2 separate regions of the Homo sapiens genome follow, and region 1 is linked to region 2. Evidence: promoter capture Hi-C in 16 types of primary human blood cells and fetal thymus (Javierre and others, 2016). All regions are on one chromosome and are shown on one strand. Each heading gives the region's core, a stretch centred on a gene start or on the middle of the fragment in contact. The rest is flanking DNA. Distances are from core to core; before and after follow the strand shown.

What was found. The method cuts DNA at HindIII sites, captures the fragments that hold promoters and counts their contacts. A CHiCAGO score of 5 or more calls a contact.
Region 1: a contact is called between a fragment that was not itself captured here and the fragment with the promoter of HLF in region 2, in 1 of 17 cell types (total CD4 T cells). The highest score is 5.2, in total CD4 T cells.

The regions. Positions count from the first base shown.
Region 1 is chr17:55,147,721-55,154,451 of GRCh38, forward strand. The region is part of intron 17 of STXBP4 (syntaxin binding protein 4); the gene reads left to right. Among named protein-coding and RNA genes, the nearest start is that of HLF, 110 kb to the right of the region's middle. The HindIII fragment of the contact is 3,834 bases long and covers 569-4,402 here.
Region 2 is chr17:55,260,911-55,267,513 of GRCh38, forward strand. HLF (HLF transcription factor, PAR bZIP family member) reads left to right here and starts at 4,050. Exons shown (of 4, transcript NM_002126.5): 1 at 4,050-4,689. The coding sequence starts at 4,575. RefSeq lists a silencer at 3,854-4,173. The HindIII fragment of the contact is 7,530 bases long and covers 3,579-6,603 here.

The DNA.
Region 1 (6,731 bases), core at 1,236-3,735, 110 kb before region 2:
TGAATAAAACAAAAGTTTCTGTGTAGAACAGGGAAGGGAAATAGATTTTAACTCATGCCATCTCTGTCTGTTGATAATAGCTGTCTCAAGTATTATTTTGAGAAGAATTCTGAGGACATATTCAACTTCACTGATGTATGCCTTGATCAACTGGAGATGTCTGCCATGGGTTTAGAGGGAGAAGTGGTGTGTAGGACACATGCCACATCTTTGCAATCTTTTTCTTCTAGAGTGTATTGCTAGCACATGACAGGAACTCTGCCATGATGAACAGTAATGATGCAACTATTAGGTTGGAATAACAAAATAAACAATGAGAACACCCCTACCCCAAATTTCTTACAAGATGTTCAGTATGTGAGAGCTTTGTTTTTATGACTCTACAGCATAACTAAGTTCTAATACGCATGGTTTCTCTCATTTCTCTCCAGTCAGAATTCATTAATGCCCTAAAATGATTGTCTATACTTGGGTTAAGACAGCCAGTTAGTTTGTTTGCAAGTAGGGAAGAATGGCTCATAATCTATAAGTGAATAAATTTTATTGTTTGCCTATTGTATTAGTTAAAAGCTTCAGTTACATTGTGTCATCTCATTTATAAACAAAGGAAAACACAAAAGACAAGAATTTTAAATTATCGTTTCTTAGGCCCTAACTTTATTTGCTAAGTAGAGCCTAGCTTAGGTAAATCTAATGCAATTAGAAATTAGGGAGATTGGAAAGGGGAAGATGGAAAGGAAGGAATGGTTTCTGAATTAGAAATTTAAAGGGTACTACTTTTAGCTTTTTCTAAATCCTTTACAATTATTTTAGCTTTTTTTTTTTTTCTTTTTTTTGAGACGAAGTCTCGCTCTGTCACCCAGGCTGGAGTGCAGTGACACAGTCTCGGCTCAGTGCAACCTCCACCTCCCAGGTTCAAGTGATTCTGCCACCTCAGCTTCCCGAGTAGCTGGGATTACAGGCACCAGCCATCACACCTGGCTAATTTTTGTATTTTTAGTAGAGGCGGGGCCATGTTGGCTAGACTGGTCTTGAAATCCTGACCTCAGGTGATCTGCCCGCCTCAGCCTCCCAAAGTGCTGGGATTACAGGCGTGAGCAAGCACCTAGCTTATTTTGGCTTTTAGTGGACACTGTCTAACACCCTCCTTCTAAAGATCTCATTAATTTGGGGGCTTTGATTCATTTTCTGTGAATGAGGAAATGTCTACTGACAAATTAGTAAGATCTAAGGCTCACTGGATGAGGTGTCAGGGCAATTTCTATGCAACTTCAGACTAGATAAGGAGAATATGTGTAGGCTCCTCACTCTCTTTTACATGTATAAGAATTCTGGGCATTTTATTCTTAATGAGGCTACAATGAAGAAACCAACAGAGGACTTAAAAGATGAAATATGGACCTTTTTAAATATTTTGCCCCCAAATACTTCTTAGCTATGAATGAGTTGTAAGGTATTGAAATTACTAGATTGCACTTTAAAGCTGTAACCATCCATGTGACAACTGGTTTGGAATATTCATTACCTAGCACAGGGCCTGGTATTTGTAGGGATGATAAATATTTATCGAATGAATATTGTTGTTGGCAGTCTGCGGAAGCAATTGATGGGGAAAAAAATAAGGGCTTTAGTATCAGACAGAGCTAGCTTCTAATGTTTATGCAACCACTTTTAAGTGTGACCTTGGTAGTGGTAAGTTATTTCAATACTCTCTACCCTCTATTCTTGTACAAAAACAAGGATAATAATTTCTATCTATCTCCCCAGATTGTTTTGAGAATTGAATGAAATTTGGGGTAAAAAGCACCTAGCAAAATACCTTGCACATAATGAGTGCTTAACAGCTGTTAGTTACCCCTCCCCTTCCTTATTTTATACTATTGCTATTTGCCAATGGAGGAGTTTAAAATGACAGTATTTACACAACTGCAGATGGAAACCAGTAGCCAAAACCTACACCTGTGCCACTCTCTGGCCAGTCAAAAGCCCTGTGATAGGAGCAGAGACATTGCATTGATCATGAGCCTGAGACAGCTTGCTCAGGATTTTCTGTAAATACCTACAAAGATATGTAGGAATATGAAGTACTGTGTGAGAAATTGTCATGAAATGAAAGACCAGGCAGCTGGCTTGGGTTATTCAGAATGGCAAAGCCCACTAAAATAAAAAGAACATCCAGACCTAAATATTCAGCATCAAAGCCCCTTTTCCCCCTCATTTAACCAATGACAGGTATAACACAGGCATGAGGCATGTTTTTTCACATTTCATTGAGATATTAAAATAAATTATTTGGGGTTTCATAAAGTACTTTGAAAACTCGTAACCTTTCTGAGGGTTAATACTTCTATTTGAAAGGTGTATAATTGTCTTTGCTGCCAGGACCCTTTATTTAGATTTACTAACAAATACTTTTTGTCAAACTCTTTCCCTTCCAAATTTGGTTGCTGTATTAGTCTGCTAGGGCTGCCGTAACAAACCACCACAGACATGGCTTAAACAACAGAAATTTATTTTCTCACAGAAGTCCCAAGATCAGGGCGCCATCAGGGTTGGTTTCTGGTGAGACTCTCTTCCTGGCTTCTAGATGCCTACCTCTGGCTGTGTCCTCATCTGGCCTCTTCTCTTTGTACACAGAGAGAGAGATATCTCTGGTGTCTCTTCTTACAAAGACACCAGTTCCATCAGACCAGTGTCCTGCCAACCCTACAACCTCATCTAACCCTAATTATCTCCATGGAGATCCAGTCTCCAAATACAGCCACGCTGGGGTTTGGAGATTCAACATATGAATTTAGGAGGGACATAGTTCAGTCCATATAGTAGCTTCTCCCAAAAATTACATTTCATAAGGTCCCTAGCAACTTTTTTCTTCATTCTGTAGATTATATTCATTATAGTGTCATACATATATGTATTATTTTTCATGCTAAACGTTTAGCAAGTTTTAGGCAAATTGCAAGAGTTGATCCCAATCGGTGCATTTTCCATTAGGCCCTAGTCTTAGGGGAAGAAGCAGCTTAAGGGAAGAAGAGAAGGGTAGGCAGAATAATGGCCCTCAAAAATGTTCACATCTTATTCCCCAGCACCTGTAAGTGTGAATATACTAGGTCACATGGTAAAGGAGCATTAAAGTTGCAGGTAGAATTAAGGTTGCTAATCAACTAACCTTAAAATAGGGAGCTAATTCTGGATTATCCAAATGGGTCCAATCACGTGACTCCTTAACAGTAGAAGAGGGAGGCAGAAAAAGAGAGTCAGAAAGAGATATGACAGTGGAAGCAGAATTTAGGATATGTTATGTTGCTGGCTTTGAATTTGGGAGCCATAAGCCAAGGAATGTGAGTGGCCTGGAAAAGCAAAGAAACAAATTCTCCTCTAGAGCCTCCAGAACAATAAGACCTGTGTGGGACTTCTGAATTACACAACTATAAGATAGTAAATTTGTGTTGTTTTAGGCCATTAAATTTGTGGAAATTTGTTACTGCAGTAGCAAATGATTACAGGGAGTTAGAAGTAGAGTGGGGAGGGTAGTGGTCCCACTACTGTGTGACCTTGGATGGGGCTTTGATACTCTGAGCCTCAGTTTCATCAATTGTAAAAACTGTAGAGAAAAATAAGGTCTGTGAGATTTATATGAAAAGCAAATTGGGAAATTGGTATCAAAGAATGTTGTAAAGTACAAAATGCTTTCCTGATGTAAAGTCTTACCCAGCTGCCACATACCTGAACATCTGTATCAAATGAATGATCTCAATATTAACAGGGCCAGAGGTCTTCTTTGATCATGCCTGCACTTTGTTACTTAGCACTGGTATTAAGCAGGTACCTCTGTGAAAATCTCCATCCCTCTGTTGGGTATCTGGTGCCTAGAAACATGGCTTTGGCTGCATTCTCATCATTTCAAAGACTAAAAATTCCAGTGTGGTAAAATCACTTCTACGGTTTAGGGACCGAAGGGAAGCGTGAGCTGTTAGCCAGGCCACTTACCATCATATTTATTTGTCTTTAGTAAAGTTTTATACTCTAATAGTTAAAACAAGATTTGCTTAGCTAAAAATAGTATTTGCTTGATGTAAATAATTTTAACAAAACCTGGGATTTGAGTAGGTTGACATATAACTCCAGCTGTATAGAAAATAAACTAGTCAAAATGGTCTGAATTATCACAGTGATTCAACTGTTACATACAACCAAATGTATGAGTAGACCTTTGGAAGTTACTTGGATATGAGAATATTGGTGAGAAGGACTAGTAGTGTTAGTTATTTGGTGACTTTGGAGCTATTTAAATCTTATTTTAATAATGATCAATTTATTTATGCATATTTTCAATAATTTAGGACAGTACACTGGATTACCAAGTCGGAAGATTGTTTTGTCTGATCCTCCATTATAAGTAAGCTTGTCTACCACTTTTGAGTATTTTTACCCAGTGATATGACAATAGTAATGTATCAGTGAAATGTATCCATGCATCAAATATTTATGGACCCCCCTTTCTGTGAGCCTGACACTGGGGCTATAAAGATGAGTAGGACACTTCCCTACCCTCCAGAAACTAACAGCCTATTAGACAAAAATAGATATATGAAGAATTTGTTGCTACATGATGTAAAAAATATGACTGCTGGCACAAAGCCTCTGACTCAGGCTTCATACAAGTACTTTTTATTCATGGTCATCCAGATAACAATTCTTATGCATTTCGTGGTATGTTAGTTTGTTTTCACACTGCTATAAAGATATCACCTGAGACTGGGTAATTTATAAACAAAGGAGCTTTAACTGACTCACAGTTCCACGTGGCTGGGGAGGCCTCCCGCAACTTACAATCATGGCAGAAGGGGAAGCAGGCACCTTCTTCACAAGGCAGCAGGAGTGAGAAGTGCAACCAGAGGAAATGCCAGACGCTTATTAAACCATCTGATCTTGTAAGAACTCAGTATCACAAGAACAGCATGAAAGAAACTGTCCCCATCATCCAATCACCTCCCTCCCTTGATACTGGGGATTACAGGTCCCTCCCTTGACACATGGAGATTACAATTCAAGATGAGATTTGGGTGGGTACACAGAGCCAAACCATATCATATGGCAAATACTTTAAAATATATATATAATAGCTTTAGACATATCATTTATAATCAATGAACTAGTCAATACATCTTTAATTAATTTTATCTTGTAAAGCTGAAGAACCCCTTTCAGATGGTCACTTAATCCATTCCAGAGCCTCCCTATATATTGTTACTGACACCAACCCAGATAACAGAGCCTCAGCGAGGAGTTTAATATAATGGTTAAATTCTCAGAAGTCAGATTTGGGTCTAGATCCCGGCTCTAACATGCACTAGTTTCATGACCTGGAATAAGTTATTTCACCTTTCTTAGTATCAGGTTCCTCATACAGAAAATAAGAATATAATTCTTTCTTGCCTTTAATTTATACTAAGGTCCTAAAAGACAGTTAATTCCATTTAGTCACAAGTCTAAGTTGGCACTATTAGAAACAATCAGTATTTAAAAGTTCATGAGAAAACTGTAGAGGTTGATGGCATGTTTTTATCCCATAATTTTCACCATAATTGAAGGCTTTTCTTTGTAACACTCACTGTCAAGTGGCTTTAGCATTTATACATGACGGAATCAATAATACTGACAAAATACTTCAAGACATTAGAGATGGTCTCATAAGGAGCCTCTCAAAGTCCCTTCCAACTTTGTGATTTTTACAAATCATTCTGTAGTATAATATATATGCTTATATTTAAAATTTGTAGTGTAGTCATTTTAACTCTGATAGATAAACATAACATTAGAATCATATAAATTAGTTGAAAAATATGTTTTAAATTTTAGTTTTTTAAGGTTTTAAATTTGTTAATTAAGAAGAATGTTTAGTCAGATGTTTATTAAACTTCTTTTGTTGATTAAATTAAGTGAACACCTGTATGGCTTGTAATACAATTCTATTTTAATAAGAACACTAAAAATTAAAGTAGCTTCTACATTTTATGCACTTCTACTCGCAGGGGGAATTTAACGTGGAAACGTTGACAGTGGTCTTATGAACTTGTTTCCAGTTAAATTTAGTATTCGTTAATCTGTATTCTGACAGTCTTGATTATTGATATTTAAAGTAGCATAAAAATATATAGCTATTACTTATTTTCTGTATTTTAGAAAGATAGGCTTTTAGTTTATAGAAGTTGTTCATATATTTATTGAGAAAGTAGTAGTCATGGCTTCCTCTTGAAATATTCTCGTCTTGCTTGACAGTGATCTAGAGTGACGCTATCTGAAATAACAAATCATCTGCTTTCAGTGACTTCATGCTCACAAATCAATGCAGGGATTCCTGGTTGATGGGTGTAGCTTTTCTTCAGGTAGTGATGTTGAGACCCAGGCTCCTCCCATCTCATGTCTCTGCCCTCCCTAATGGCCTCAGAGTCCTCTACATTCGGTTGGCGGATAATGAGTGAGAGTAGAGAAGGCACTCCAGCTTCTTAAAAACCCTGACCCACAAAAGATAAACATCAATTCTGTTACCTTCTATTGACAGGAACTAATCACATGCTCACATAAAGATATGAGGAGAGCTGGGAAATGTAGTCTCTGCCTAGGCAGCTGCCACCTGGCAGCAACTCTATGGTATGGAATGGAGAACATAAATTTTTGGTGGACACTGCCAACAGGTATATGAAAAAGTACAAATATACCAACTATAC
Region 2 (6,603 bases), core at 2,800-5,299:
ATCCCAGCTACTCAGGAGGCTGAGGCAGGAGAATTGCTTGAACCTAGGAGGCGGAGGTTGCGGTGAGCTGAGATCACGCCATTGCACTCCAGTCTGGGCAACAAGAGCGAGACTCCATCTCAAAACAAAACAAAACAAACAACAACAACAAACAATTCAAGGGGGAAATGAAAGTCTAAAACAATTGGATATCCCCATGAGTAAAACCAACCTTAATCCTTACCTCATAGTATACACAAAAATTAATTTGAAATGGGTCATAAGGCTAAATGAAAAAGCTTAAACTATGAAAGTTATAAAGGAAAGTATAGGAGAATATCTCCAGAACTCAGGAGTAGTCAAAAGTTTCCTAGTTCATAGCAAGCAATAATCATGAAAAACAAATTGATAAATTGAACTTTGTCAAAATTAAAAACTGCTCATGGAAAGACGTTATTATAAAAACTAATCAGCAAGCCACAGATTGGAAGAAAATATTCACAACACACAAACATCTGACAAAGAGACTATCCAAAGTATATAAAAGAACTCCTAAAATTCAGTAATCAAAAGATAACCAAATTCAAAAATGGGCAAGAGACTTGAACAGGAAGATGTACAAGCTACTAAGAAGCACATGAAGTAGCACATGCCATCATTTTTCATCAGGAAAATTCAGATGAAAGGTCCATTGAGAACTGACTATCCACCCACTAGAATGGCTACAAGTTTTAAGAGAAACTGACACCACTAAATATTGGTGAGGCGCTAGAACAACCAGAACTCTCATATACTGCTGCTGGAAATGCAGGACAATTTACCTGCTTCAGAAGACTATAGAAGAGCTTCTTCTAAAGTAAAACACACATCTTTTCTATGATCCAGTAATCCTACTCCTATTTGTTTATCCAAGAGAAAGGAAAGCATGTGTTCACAAAAGAACTCAGACAAGAATTCTCATAAACATTTTATTCATGCCTAAAAACTGGAAACAACCCAAATGTCCACCAATACAACAGATAAACTTTTGTATATTCATAGAGCGGAATACTACTCACTAATATAAAGAAATGAACTATATGCAACATTGGTGAATGTCTAAAATACTGTGCAGAGTGAAAGAAGCTACACACAAGAGAGTATATACAGTATGATTTCACTTGTATGAAATTATAAAACAAGCAAAATGAATCTATGGTGTAAGGAGGCCATGTAAAGAGAAAGAGAAGGCCAGCCAGCCCAGTATCCCAGCTGAGCCTAACCTAGATTGCAGAATAATGAGAAATAATAAAATGATTGTTGTTTTAAGCCACTAGGTTTTGGAGTGATCTGTTACACAGCAATCAATAATCAGCATCATTGCTTTCCTCATGGAATTGTCAGAAGTATGTGATATGACACATATGGAAGGGCTCTGTAAGTGGACAAGTGCTAAGCACTTGTGAGCGGCAGTTATCTCTGGGCATATGTGCAGATTGGGGTTAGTGCTCATTAGGGATATGTCCATTTGAGAATTAACCTGTGGAATTCAGAGGGTCTTACTACCCAACCAATATAACCTTTGGTTTCTTCTATCCCTCTCCTTCCTCTTGAGCAGCCATCCACAACTGCTTCTGGGGAAGAGAGAGAGAGAAAGAGAAAGAAAGATGTTCATGGTTTGTTAAAAAAATAAAAGAAAATAACATTTACAAATGGCCAGAGTAGAAAAGATGTACCAATTTCATTTATCTTGTTAAGGAATGGGGCTAGATTGAAGATTAGCCAATGCTTATAATTTTTGAGGCTCTAAGAAATACCTTTGAAGTTAGAGAAGGATGGAGAGAAGTGAGAGGGAGTCACCATGGTCTAAGGGGCTGGTCCTCAATCTGGTCCGTGACATGTTGATCAGGCTCAGGGAAATTAAATTAAATGAACCAAATTCCCAAGAAACTGCTTGATCAACCAGAACGCCAGTTTATCCACTTGCAATGAGAAATGCAATTTCCAAGCCACAGTATTTGGTTCTGTCAGGTGGTAAGGAGAAGATTACCCTGGGAAACCAGATTACTTGACCTGGTAAGAGTTTCATGTCTGGAAACATGGGGAAGTGAGGACATGCGGAGAATCATGAGCAGGTGGAGCACTTTGGGCGTGCTGAGTAATGTCAGTGGACTGTTACACAAAGCTTAGGTAACGCATCTTTCATGCACCTGGAATCTGCAATCTAACAGATTTCTAACCAGGCTGAGAGGATGCTCTCAGTCCTGCCAGTTTATGGACTTACAGGGATGTAAGGAACTCAAGACAGGGAAATAGCCTCTGTCTCCAAAAGGATAGCGGAGATGAGGTCCCTTTTTTATTTTTTAAAAAAACAATATAATATAATTGATGGATTCAGACCGTTCACGAGAGACTATTACCTCCACGCCCAGCTCAGGCACCTTCTCTAGAATCCCTTTCCTAATAATGTAAGTGCCCCTGTCACCTCCATCTATCCATTTTTGTTCTTTTAAGCCTATTTTATATTATTTGCTTATATGCCAAACCCTAAACGATGAGTTCTTGAAGGTTAAAATTATGTTTTATTCATCTTTTTTCACTAGCCCCCGCATAGTCGCTGGCATACATACCGTGGTGCTCAATAAATGCATGTGGCATTAACTAAAAGTTTGCTGTTTCTGGAATTCGTCTGAAACCTGAAACACTGCAACAACATCTCACTTAGAATGTTGCCTTACCCTTTTGCCATAATTTTAGAGTGAGGAAGTAGAGGTCACTAGATTACGTGTCCTTTTATGAAGAACCTACAGCTCAGGGCAGAAAGGCACTTGCCGGAATCACCCTGCCAGGGAACTCTGAACCCCGCTGCGCCGCCGCTCCTGATCTCTGGGGTTTCAGGCGCCTCCTCTCTTACAACCCTCTCCTGGGGAAGTAAACCCCATCAAGACACCACCACATCCTTCCCCAGCGACTCAGCCTGGGGTCACAAAGGCCTTTACGTCCCACTGAAAAACGGTTTTCTTTCATTTGTGCCCATTCGTTCTTGCAGCCCCTTCCCCAGATCGAAGACTAGGGTCTTAGTAAGGAGAGGTAAGGAGGGAGGGGAAGAACCTGCCTGGCCCCCCGCGGAGCTCTGCAGGGGGCGTCGCGGCTGCACGCCAGCGCCCGCACCACCCCAGGCGGGAAGGGAGTTATCACACAGGGGGTCGCACGCAGATCTCGGGGACCGTGGGTGCCACGAGGTCAAACTGGCAGAGGGAGACGCTGCAGCTGCTGTAACAGCAAGGAAAGCCGAAGCCCCCTTAGGGGATACTTTACAAAATTATTTTAATCACCGTGCAAACCTAATAACTTGACCCAAGCGCAATCACCTGTATTCACCCAGAGTAAATATTCCTAAAATCCCGTTCAGTGTGTCTGTGTCTCTCCCGCCTCTTTCCGTTTCAGGCAAATGTCTACCCCCCCTCTCCCCCCACCGTTAACACCTCTCTGCAGCGTGGGAAACAGTGCCCAGCAGCTCAGTCCTCCGCTTCCCGCTCTGCTTTTTGCATCCCATTCGGACTTATAGGAAGTAGTTATTTTTTGGTGGTGGTGGAAACTGGGCAAGAAAGAAGACGCTAAGCTTGGCCGGGGCCAGGAGAAATATTGAGAAGGGTCGTTACCTTCCATCCGATCTAAACCAATCATCTCAAACTTGGCTACTCTTTGGAACCACCTGGGGAGCTTTAAAAATTATGGACGCCCTGATAGCACCGCAGAGGTTCTGATCTAATTGATCTGGGATGCGGCCTGGGTATCGCGATTTTTTTAAAACTCCTCAGGTTATTCCCAGCTTGAAAACTATGGATATAAATTTCTCATTCCTCTTCCCACCCAGACCAAAAAAAAAAAAAAAAATCTAAGCCTAAGTTGATGGCCCAGGGAATCTGGCACCTGCTCCCCTGCAACCAGCCAGTGCTGCAAGGTCCCCGAAAATCGGCGCGAGCGGCGACGCTAAACACGCGGCGGCGGGGCGAGCGGGCCAGGCGGGCGGTGCCGCGCGTGGCCCCGCCCCCGCACGCCTATGGGCGCGAGGTGCGGGCCCTGACGTCACTCTTGTCAGGGCCGCGGCACATGGGCGGCCGGATGCGCTGAGCCCGGCGCTGCGGGGCCGCGGAGCGCTGGGGAGCAGCGGCCGCCGGCGCGGGGAGGGGGGTGGGGTGGGACGGCGCACCGCCTCCGGTGCTGGCACTAGGGGCTGGGGTCGGCGCGGTGTCTTCTGCCCTTCTGCAGCCGTCGACATTTTTTTTTCTTTCTTTTTTTCAATTTTGAACATTTTGCAAAACGAGGGGTTCGAGGCAGGTGAGAGCATCCTGCACGTCGCCGGGGAGCCCGCGGGCACTTGGCGCGCTCTCCTGGGACCGTCTGCACTGGAAACCCGAAAGTTTTTTTTTAATATATATTTTTATGCAGATGTATTTATAAAGATATAAGTAATTTTTTTCTTCCCTTTTCTCCACCGCCTTGAGAGCGAGTACTTTTGGCAAAGGACGGAGGAAAAGCTCAGCAACATTTTAGGGGGCGGTTGTTTCTTTCTTATTTCTTTTTTTAAGGGGAAAAAATTTGAGTGCATCGCGATGGAGAAAATGTCCCGACCGCTCCCCCTGAATCCCACCTTTATCCCGCCTCCCTACGGCGTGCTCAGGTCCCTGCTGGAGAACCCGCTGAAGCTCCCCCTTCACCACGAAGACGGTGAGCGCTGCCGCGGCCCCGCTCCGGGAAGGGACGACGCTCCGGGGGTCCCCCTCCGCGGCCGGGCACGCCCGCTGGAGCATCCCCCAACCCCGCTCCCGCCCTGTCCCGCGGCGCCCCGGCCCCGCGCTGATGAAATTGAGGAGCTCACCCAGCACCCTTCCTCCCCTTCCTCCTCCTCCATGAAAGGGGAGGGACCCCTCCTGAGCTACATTTAAAAGAGCTTCGGGCACCCGGCCTCCCTGGGTCCCGCTCCTGCGGCGCGGGTGGGAGGTGTAACTTGACAGGTCAGGATCGTTCCCTAGAACGAGGCACACCCGCACGCAGAGCGAGCCCGCCTGCGGAGGGCAGAGCCTCCCGGGCTGGGGAGGAGAAACCCTGGGGCCTGGTTCTGTGCGGGGCAGGGGGCGGGGGTCGGCTTGAGGGAGGGGGTTTCACTGCGTAGCCTGGGTTTTGGGGTTGTGTTACAGCTTCTGTTACTGGTTAGTATTTGGAACTCACGAGGTGTGAGAGAAGACTCGTTTTCTTCTGGTGAAGGGTAGCTGAGAAAGCGGGGTGGGGGCTGGGGCCGGTGGGGGGAGTGGTCTCTCGGCGGGAAGCCGTGCACGCCTCCAGCGTTGACACTTTCCCGGTGCACTTTTTCTGGTGGGAGGGGAGAGCGGAGCAGGCTCACGTGTAACCGCGCAGGAGCCTCCTCTGGCTTGAGCCCTTTCTTGGTAAGTCCCAAACCTTCCCAAGACAACCTTGGCCTTAGCAGTAGAGGAGGGGTACGTGTGATGAGGCCCCAAACCCGGCTAAGTGATGCCACGGATTTGGGTTGATGCGATTTCATGCCTTCGGTATCACAGTAGCAAATGCGAACCGTGCGGCTCACAGTGTAAAGTTCTGAAAGGTTATTTGGCTACAAATAGCTTGGGAGTACTTGCACCTTCTTTTCTAGGAGAGGACAACCTGTTGCATTGCAAGAGTTTGCAATCTGCAGATGATAGCCAGGGACCCCTCCCTAACTATCCTTTAAGGAAGAGCATTTGGGAGGAAGGGGCTGCCTGCAGGCTTTTGCATCTGTGGGTGTTTTAAGTCAGATTTTCAGATGAGATGGTAGAGGGTTAGAATGGATGGCAGTGGAGGCTGTGTTTCTCTGAAGATGAAACTCAGAAGCAAATTCCTTAATCCCAGATTCCACCCACGACTGAATACTAGAATTGGCAAGATCCGGAATGCTTGTTAAAGACCTAATGGGCGAGCAGTACTTCCAGGTAGCAAATAGCTGCATACTTCCAACATAAATGTATAGAATAACTCACCTTTTCCAATAGCTCTGCTTTTGAAAGGTTTTGTAAATGCATACTCTTTGTAAATTGGATCATACTCAAATGTTTGGAGAAGAGAAGGAAGAAAACACTTTGTATTTTTTTAAACTCCTTTTGTAAAAATCAGTGTGCCCCAGTGGCTTTAGAAGCAAACACATGTGAGCTCAGAAAGTTCTCATTCTCTGCCAACATGAGGCATTGGTCAAGTTCCCTCAAGTCTCAGAGCCTCCGAGTCTTTGTTGTAAATGGAGGTAATTGTTATTTTGCAAGTTTATTGTGAGATTTTTGAGATAATATATGGAAAGAACCAGGTATCCAGTAGGTACTCTAAACATGATGTTAAAGAAGGGTGGAAGGTCCCTGCTTTACCAAAATTAAGACCACTAACTCACTGGCTTTGTAAGTCTGAATGACCTCCTATTGCTGCTGTGATGAATTCCTGGAAGATAATTCAAGCCTGGTTATTGGCTGTTGTTTTCTTAAAAATGACAGCAGTTGTATATAATCACAGATGTTATATTCCTATTTTAGGTTTAAGTTATTACTCTTCTCAAATAATGTGCTGAGACTGTTCTCTGGTTTTTATCCTAGATCAGCCTGTAGC